Regions from separate parts of the Homo sapiens genome. Here region 2 is linked to region 1. The links are contacts of gene promoters, found by promoter capture Hi-C in human tissues and cell types (Jung and others, 2019). All regions are on one chromosome and are shown on one strand. The core of a region is centred on a gene start or on the middle of the fragment in contact, and the rest is flanking DNA. Distances in the headings are between cores, read along the strand shown. Region 1 holds the start of TMEM132A (transmembrane protein 132A). Region 2 holds the start of PGA3 (pepsinogen A3).

Region 1 (4,584 bases), core at 1,823-4,322:
CCTCTGGAATATGGGGAGCACAGCCGGGGCTGGGGAAGGCTCCCAATTTGTACCCAGCAGACCTCAGGCCCTGAGTCCTGTTAGCCTGAGAGTCCCCGGTGCCCCCTCCTTACCTGCTGAGTGGCAAAAGGTGGGTAGGAGGCCCGGAGAAGTGGCTGGGCCCTGGGCCAGGGCTGTAGGAGCAGAAAGGTCTCAGATCGGGAGCTCAGAGAGGAGTTGGCAGGTGGGTAGTGGCCCACCTGCTGCACACGGAAGTGTTCAGGGGCGTCTAGGAGCTCCAGGGCTGCCGGCAGGTAGACAGGGTCCAGGGGAGCCTGGCCACAGTCCACTGAAGAGGCATAAGAGGGAGAGATGATGACAGCTCCAGAGCTGGCAGGGGCTGACCCGGGTGCCATGCTGGGGCACAGTAGTTGTGGGCAAGGGAGGGAGAAAAGGGCTGTAAATGTCCCTTCCCCTCTCACCACCATTTCACAGATGAGGTCACTGAGGCTTAAAGAGCCTCACACAGGTAGTATGTAGCAAAGCCAGGATTCGAATCTGAGTCCAGGACTGGATGCTTCCCAGCTATTCCTTCTACTTTCCACAGACCTTGGCCTTCTTCTCGCCAACAGCCTTCTCAATGTCTCCTTTTCCCCAACTCCTGCCCTCCATCTACTCGCCTCTGATACCAAGGCACTTCTGGGGTGCAACCGTCGGCAGACTGGGCCAGTGTAGTAAAATATGGTAATGAAGTGAGCTTTCTCTGCCCTGAATCCTTGGCCAGGCTCTGCTGGGCATCCACCCCTCCTCCCCCATCATTGCCATGGCAACCTGCACCATCTTTCCAAGCTTGCTCCCTTCTTCCCTGAACCGACTGGTATCGAGTGCAAGTGTGGGATGGGCGGGCGCGGAAGGTGCTGAAGAGGTCTGTGAAGGCACTTGCTTGCCCTGGGGGTGGGGTGGGGACCAGGAGCCTGGGGAAGACAGTCAAAATAGTCAATCATCAGAAGGACAAAGGAGCACTAAGCCATATTGGTTTGCTCTAACTATGAGCACTAATAATAATAATTAGCATTTTGTGAATGCTATATGCAGGTGAGAATTTAAATACTGTATGTATATGAACTCTTTGAGTCTTTGTAATAATTCTGTGAACCAGGTTCTATTATGATGAATCCCATTTTGTGGATGTAGAAAATGAGGCCGAGAGGTTAAGGTATTTGCCTGTGGTTCCACAGCTGGAGAGTGAAGGAGCTGGGGGTTGATCCCAGGTATTAGCCACTAGACCATCCGGCGTCTCCACCTGCCACTTCTCTCTCCACTCTCCACTGCCACGGTGCACCCTGCAGGCTTCATGCCCTGGAGCGCACCTCCTCTCCTCTGCTCTGCCCGGTGGCACCTCCCTCCTCATTCAGGGCCATGAGTGAATACTGCCTCCTTCTGAAGGAAGCCCTCCTTGGTTACTCACCTTCCCACCAGTCTCCTGTCTTTTGCAACCCTGGGTGCCTCCTCTGAATTAGTAATCTTCCTATAAACAAGGGACCCTGTCTTGCTCATCCTGGAATTCCCCCAAACTAGGAAGCGCTCCCTAGAGAGGATTTCCTGGGAGCCTGGAGACCTGAATTTAAATTGATGAAACTTGGGTCAGGCATTAACATTTTGAAGCCTGTTTCCTCACTTGTAAAAGGGGCAGGAGCATTAGGTGGCACTGTGGACAGGACAGGGCTGTGTAAACTGTGGAGTGCTGTCTGGAGGGAGCAGGCATTATTGCTGCTGCATAATGGATTTGACAAGGTTTTCCTCCTCTCTCTATTAGGACTCCCATGGCGTCCCTCGGGATGGGGAGCAGGTGGCTGAAAGCAACCCCACAGCTAGCTCCCTCTCAGCCCCACAGCTGGACTGTGGGTGGGGGTGGGGGAATTGGTTTCAACCTCCTTCCTGGCCCTCCCCACCAAGGAGCATATGACTGACAGGCTCTCCCTGCCCCCTGCCCCAAGCGTAACAAGTGACCACTGCTCTCTGGGGGCAGCCACTGGCTTCAGGTTCGCCTCCTACTCCATTGCCTCCATAATTACAAGATGCTCTTAGCCTGACTCCCACGGACTCCCATCACCCAGCGCTCGGCTCTCTCGGTGGGGAGGGCAGAGAATGTTTCACTGTCCCTCTGTCTTCTGTGGCATCCTTTGCCTTGCAGCCACAGCCCAGCTAGCCCAGGCCAAGGGAGTCCGACCCCCACCCCGAAGCACAGGGAAGTTGCTGCCCTTTCCCGCAGTGACAGGAATCCTCTCAAAGGTTCTGGAAGGCAAGGATGCGGCCATCCCTGGAGACGCCAAGGTCAGGGAGCCCTGGGGGAAGGGGGAGGGAGGGCTTGCGTCTGTTGCAGGTCCCAGGCAAAGGGGCTGCTTTCCACTCCCGAGGGGGGTGGGTTGGTGGCGGCGGAAGGAGGCTAGGAGGGTGCAGCGCTACAGACCACAGTGAGGGAGTGGGGATGACGCTAGTGCGCCCGGGACCGGGGCCGCCGGGTTCGATGCCCGGGCTGAGGGGTCCCTCGCAGAAGGTGCGGGACGGGGAAGCCCCTGCGCCGGGCTGCCCCGGGTCAGGAAGGAGTTGCCGGGTCGTGCAAGGTGAAGGAAGCCTTAGGGGCGAGTGGCTGGGGGCAGGTTCCCGAGGGCAAGAACTCTCCGACCTTCAGGGCGCTGCGGGGCGACCCCGCTCAGGGTTCAGTCCGAGAACCCAAAGGTTGGTGGCTCCCGGGCATCACTCGCTCCCACTCGGCCGGGCCCGGCCGCCCCTCGCCCCGGCCCTCCCCTCCCGCTGACCTCTCACGACGTCCAGGGCGAGGGCCACCAGGAGGCAGAGCCAGGGGCCGTAGGGCCCCCGAGGGGCCGCTGTTGTGCGACCGGCCATCCGCGCGCACATCCTTCCCACAGAAGGCGGGGACGAGGCGGGCGGCTCAGGTGGCCCCAGTCCCGCACGGCATCTCCCGCACCCGCTCCGCGCCGTCCCCACCTGGCCCGCTGGGTCCCGGCCGCCGCCGCCGCCGCCGCCGCCCGCCCCGCGGCTGCAATTCCCAGACAATGGAGCGGGAGCAGTGGGGTGGGAGGGAGCGAATCGCAGCACATGGGCTGCCCCCTCCGCCCCGCCGGGTCCTAGTGCCCTACGGATCCCCAATCCCTGCGCGCTCAGGCGACCGAGGTCGGGAAGAGGGCCACGTCCCTGGAAGCAACAGAGGACGGCCGCCTCTGCCAGGAGGGACTCGGTGAGTTCTGTGTGGCTCCCTCACGGAAGCTTCTGATCAGGGAAGAAAAAGCCACTTTCTCTGCCTCACCCACCCCCACAAGCAGCTCACTTGTGAAGGCATCTGACACCTGAGTCAGAACCAGAATTCAGGGACACATGGGACGGGAGCTGCAGGGACAGGAAAGGAGGGAGGGGGTCAAACGGGGCCAGATGCCAACCACCTGAGCCTGCCCTGACAGAGCTAGGCCACCGCCGTGGAGGAAGGGCTCTAGGTGCAGGCAGCTCTAGTCTCTTGACCAGCTCCACCTGGGCAGCGTCCTGCAGCGCTTAGGAGGGTTGAGGGTTGCCCAACACTCCCGAGGGAAGGCCAGCCTCAAGGGTCCTGACCCAGTGTTGCCTACCAGGCAGTTTGGGGAGAGGCCCAGAGCAGGGGCCCCAGCTGCACACTCTCATGCCCTGGGCAGCTTACAAAGAAAAAATTATGTCTGAGGCCCTCCGCAAAATTGGTCCAGCCTGTGGGCCGACTGGAAACCTTGGCACAGGAAAGTCCTCAGGTGGGTGGTGAAGGGGAGGGCAGGCAAGTCTTCTCCAGGCTGCCCACCCACCTCAGCACACTGCAGGGAAGGGGTGACCCCTCTGCCCAGCAAGCACACGCATTTCCAGCAGTGCCAGTCGTTCCTACGTTTTGTAATGGGGGCATGCTTTCCTAATTCCTTGTGCTCCTGGAGGGAAGGGTACCTGGTACCAGCCTGCCTTTTCAGCTCTCCCCTCTGCCAGCTTCACACTGCCCCCACAGGGAGAAATTGGGAGGCGGAGCTGCACTACAGAAATGGGTTTAGCAGTAGAGGAGACATGGAAGCAATCCAGACTTGGAGTAAATACATTTTATTCAGAACAAGATAATAAAATAGCGTGCACTTTATTTAAAACCAACCAAGCACTGATAAAAAATATATATCACTGCAGCTGTGATTCCACATCAAACCTGAACAGTAAGAATTGGGCATTTATTCTTCACATCATGTGCCAAGCCTGGCAGAGAAGGACATCCACCTCCACTAGAGCCTCAAAGGAAAAGTGGCCCCTAACCACCAAGACAGGGTACCCTGGTGGAGAGGGGCAGCTGGCAGCTCACCCTGCTCTCTGCAGACCACGTGAAGGGAAAGGAGCTGCCTGTGTTCCTCCCGGGCTGCCGGGGTGGGCACTGGTCAGCAACTCCTTCTCGGTTTCAGGTTGTGGAGCGATGGGGAGAGAAGTGCATGCAGTTGTGCAGACAAGGAGGCGGGTCCTCCCTCCTCTTTCAGGGTCTCTGAAACCCCCACAGGGCATATAATGCCCAGCAAGGTCCCACTTGCAGGCACATGC
Region 2 (4,584 bases), core at 850-3,349, 280 kb before region 1:
CTGCCTGTTCCTTTCATTGCTTTGCGAGACCCCTTGATGACTGTGTTTGTCTCCTAGGCTATGAGTTTGCTCACTGCTGTCTCCCCCTGAGCCCAGCACAGGCCCTGAAATAGAATGAGGCGCTCAGAGAAATTAACATTGCATGAACGAGTGAACGAATGAATGAATGAACTCTGACTGTGAGCTTTCCTGCCTGCCCTGGGCCACTGACATCTAGGGGGCAGACTCTGGGTCACTGCCTGGAGCCACAGAGCCCAGGCCCGTCCTCCAAGACCCCTGGGACACCCTCTTTCCTGCGGGCCAAGTCCTCAGAGCTGGCCCCACCACTTGCCCGCACACTCACATCCAGGTAGTTCTCCAGGGGCTGTTCATCTACCAGGGTGGGAGCCTTCCACTGGGGGAAGTACTTTCTGGCTGGGTTGAGGTTGTGCTTCTTCAGGAAGTCCTTCAGCAGGCCACGCTCGGACAGGGTGCGCCTCAAGGACTTCTTTCTGATGAGGGGGACCCTGTGGTTTGGAGAAGGAAGAGGAATTAGGCAAGGATTCTGCTGACCGGGTGCTGTGGCAGCCCCAGAAGGGAAGGGAAGCTGGTCTAAGAGAGGAAGAAGGAAGGAAAGGAGACGCCCCCTCTTCTGCCCAACAATGCAAAGAAGTTAAGTTGACTAGTGCTGGAGCTGGGAGCCAAACCCAGGCTGGACTCTTAACCAGCTGATCTAAGAGAGGAAGATGGAAGGAAGGGAGAAGCTCCCACTTCTGCCCCATAATGCAAAGAAGTTAAGCTGACTAGGGCTGGAGCTGGGAACCACAGTCAGGCTGGGCCCGAGTTTTAACCATGTCTGCAGGGCTGCCTCCCAAAAAGGCAGAGAGAGAGGCGGAAAAGGGGGATGGAGACAGCTGAATAGAGAGGGAGAAAAAAGGGAAGAAGGAAGACACGGGAGGAAAGAAAGGTGATGTGGGAGGCAGCGTCTTCACACCCACACCACCCGGACTCACTTGTACATGATGCACTCAGAGAGTGCCACCAGACCCAGCAGCAGCAGCCACTTCATGGTTCTTCCCGGGTCCCAACTCGAGGGAGAAGGCAAGACGGGAGGAAGGTGCAGAGCAGCAGCATGAGCTGCCCCTTATATACAAGTTGGGTCCCGCCTTATCGGCCTCTGAAAGTCACCGGTTCCCCTGATCCCAAACAGAGAAGCTCCTGATAAGATTGTGGCTGCCCTAAGCCACATTCTGAGATCTTTCCAGCTGAGGCACTTTCCACTATAACTTTGCACCATGGGGAGGGGGGAGGGTGCCATGGGGATGGACCCGCAGAGAGAGAGAGGAGCAATGACCGGGAGGCTTTTTTCTTTCTTTTTTCTTTTCTTTTTTTTTCTTTCTTTTTCTTTCTAAGCAATGACCTGGAAGCTTATTTGTTTTCTTTTCCTTTGTTTCCTTTCTTTTCTTTCCTTTCTTTCCTTCTTTCTCTTTCTCTCTTTCCTTCCTTCCTTCCCTCCTTCCTTCCTTTCCTTTCTTTCCTTACTTTCCTGACGGAGTTTTGCTCTGTCGCGCCGCCAGAGGCTTATTTCTGAAGCATTGACAAGGGCCTACGTTAAAACTTTACCAGCTGAGCATTTTGACAAAGTTGGTTAAAAGTGCGTTTAACACAGCATTGGAGAGATGTGAAGGAGCCCCAGGTGGCCTGATTTGTCCCAGAGGGCATGCAGCTGGGGTTCTTAGAGAGCAGCCCCCGACTCAGTCATAGGTGGTACTGGTTGTGGTCACTGCTTATTCACAGCACATTGGGGGGTCAGTCGTTTGGGTCTCAGGACACAATTCCCCACATAAGTGTCATTGTGTGGGGTTGTTGGGCGTCTGACTAGCCTATGGGCCTTGTGGCTTGCTTTTGGTGCAACTGGGCTGAGTCTGGGAAGGAGATGTGCACAGTACACGGGGGAGGAGGGAGACAGCACCGGGAGAATGCTGCCTTCCCTTCCTGGAGGAGGCAAACTTCAGACAGGCCAGGTATGTCTTTGGAATCTGTGTCCCTCCCTTTCTGCACCCCTTCTCTTTCTTTTGCTCCTTTCCCACCCTCTCCACCTTTGAGATCCCACCTGGGTCTGATTTCTCCAGGTGCTCCAGGCTTACAACTGGGTTGAAATCAGCTACAATGGAGTGAAGCAATCTGGGCAAACAATTCATACTCATGGGTGAGTGACTTAGAAAGAGGATGCTTGGCCGGGCGCCGTGGCTCACGCTTGTAATCCCAGTACTTTGGGAGGGTGAGGCAGGTGAATCACCTGAGGTTAGGAGTTCAAGACCAGCCTGGCCAACATAGTGAAACCCCGTCTCTACTAAAAGTAGAAAAGTTAGCTGGGCATGGTGGTGGGCGCCTGTAATCCCAGCTACTGGGGAGGCTGAGGCAGGAGAATCGCTTGAACCTGGGAGGCAGAGGTTGTGAGAGGTGAAGCCCTCTGGGCTTCTGAGTCGGGTGGGGACTTGGAGAACTTTTGTGTTTAGCTAAAGGATTGTAAATTCACCAATCAGCACTCTGTGTCTAGCCAAAGGTTTGTAAACACACCAGTCAGCACTCTGTGTCTAGCTAATGGGGTGGGGACTTGGAGAACTTTTGTGTCTGGCTAAAGGATTGTAAATGCACCAAGCAGCACTGTGTCTAGCTGAAGGCTTGTAAATGCACCAATCAGCATTCTGTGTCTAGAGAATCAGGTGGGGAATTGGAGAACTTTTGTGTGTAGCTAAAGGATTGTAAATGCACCAATCAGTTCTCTGTAAAATGGACCAATCAGCAGGATGTGTGTGGCGCCAAATAAGGGACTAAAAGCAAGCCACTGGAGCCAACAGTGGCAACCTGCTCGGGACATCTTCCAGGCTGTGGAAGCTTTGTTCTTTCGCTCTTCACAATAAATCTTGCTGCTACTCACTCCTTGGGTCTGCACTACTGTTATGAGCTGTAACACTCACCGCGAAGGTCTGCAGTTTCATTCCGGAAGCCAGCGAGATCACGAACCCACCGGGAGGAATAAACAACTCTGGACGCGCCACCTTTAAGAGCTGTTACACTCACCGCGAAGGTCTGCAGCTTCACTCCTGAAGCCAGCGAGACCACAAACCAACTGGGAGAAACTCTGGACACATCTGAACATCTGAAGGAACAAACTCCAGACACACCATCTTGAAGAACTGTAACACTCACCGTGAGGGTCGGCGGCTTCATTCTTGAAGTCAGCGAGACCAAGAACCCACCGGGAAGGAACCAATTTGGGACACAGTTGCAATAATCCGTGATCGCGCCACTGCACTCCAGCCTGGGCAACAGAGCTAGACTCCATCTCAAACAAACAAACAAACAAACAAAAAAAAAAAAAAGAAAAAAGAAAGAGGATGCTTACCAACCCAATGGATTGTGAGATTTTATTCAGTGGACAAAGTAGAGTGAAAACCCTGATGCATAAATTGCTGGGGAGGAGGACAGGGGAGCGGGGAGGTCACCAGGTAGATAGGAAGCCCTGTCTCAGGGTCTTGTTCTGAAATCGGATCCCCTGGGGCATCCTCAGACTGTCCAGCCATGAGAGCCACAGGTTCTATAAAAGCTCCAAGTTGCCCCCAGTGCCTCCAGGTGAGTATTGAGGAGTGGGCAGTGTGGATTAGTTCAGGGACAGTGGTGGTTGGTAGAAAACACATTGACATTACAGACTCCCCTGTTAGTTGACATCTTTGTGCCCCAAATGTGAATCCTGGGCCCATTTTCTTTTGTTTTCTTTTCTTTTTTTTTAACTGTGAATCTCACTCCAGTATGACTAGCCCTTGTATTTTCCACGTTCATGTCTTCTGGTGCCTCCTTCTCTTCCTCTTTCTTTCCTCCCTCTCAAGCCTCTCTCTCTGTTTTATGAGACAGGGTCTTATTCTGTCACTCAGGGTAGAGCGTAGTGGGGTGATCATGGCTTACTGCAGCCTCAGCCTCCCACGCTCAATTAGTCCTCTGGCCTCAGGCTCTGAGTAGCTGGGATGAAAGGCATGAGCCACTACACCGAGCTAACTTTTGTATTTTCTGTAGAGACAGGGCTTCACTATGTGGCCCAGGCTGGTTTCGAACTCCTGGGCTCAAGCGATCTTCCTGCCTCAGCTTCTCAAAGTGCTGGGATTACAGTGAACCACACTGCACCTGGCCCTCTCTCTCTTTATGGATACATAATATTTTACATATTTTTTTTGGGTACATGTGATATTCTGTTACAGGCATAGAAAGAGTAATGATGAAGTCAGGGTATTTGGAGTATCCATCACCTAAGTATGGGTTGATCCTAGCACTCATGTGAAGAACCTGATGGTCCTGAAGATGCTGCCTAAGTTCTGGGGGCACCAGATGGAATCCCCTCACTCAAGGCTGCCACCAGATGGAAGGGAGGGAGCTTGGAGCCCAAGGATGGGCACTGATTTTGGGGGCACAGTTTGTCTGGGGCCCACATGGGAATTTTGAGCAGAGAAGTATATTTGGGAAGCAGAAGGAAGATTCCCCAGGCAGAAACCTGCAAGCCCCTTTACACATTCATTCAAATGCCTTATTGTGCACTTGCTGTGTACCGTG

Evidence for each region. The method cuts DNA at HindIII sites, captures the fragments that hold promoters and counts their contacts. A contact is called where the count stands out against the background at its distance.
Region 2: a contact is called between a fragment that was not itself captured here and the fragment with the promoter of TMEM132A in region 1, in 2 of the 25 tissues and cell types used here (H1 embryonic stem cells and spleen).

The regions. Positions count from the first base shown.
Region 1 is chr11:60,922,948-60,927,531 of GRCh38, reverse strand. TMEM132A (transmembrane protein 132A) reads right to left here and starts at 3,072. Exons shown (of 11, transcript NM_178031.3): 1 at 2,799-3,072; 2 at 114-328. The coding sequence starts at 2,898. TMEM109 (transmembrane protein 109) reads right to left here. Exons shown (of 4, transcript NM_024092.3): 4 at 4,089-4,584. LOC124902676 (a long non-coding RNA gene) reads left to right here and starts at 2,135. Exons shown (of 2, transcript XR_007062688.1): 1 at 2,135-2,313. RefSeq lists silencers at 2,427-2,496, 2,537-2,756, 2,817-3,176. The HindIII fragment of the contact is 5,282 bases long and covers 1-4,437 here.
Region 2 is chr11:61,200,029-61,204,612 of GRCh38, reverse strand. It overlaps PGA3 (pepsinogen A3), which reads right to left and starts at 1,098. Exons shown (of 9, transcript NM_001079807.4): 1 at 993-1,098; 2 at 344-506. The coding sequence starts at 1,048. LOC124902678 (a long non-coding RNA gene) reads right to left here. Exons shown (of 4, transcript XR_007062691.1): 4 at 3,743-4,584. The HindIII fragment of the contact is 5,848 bases long and covers 1-4,584 here.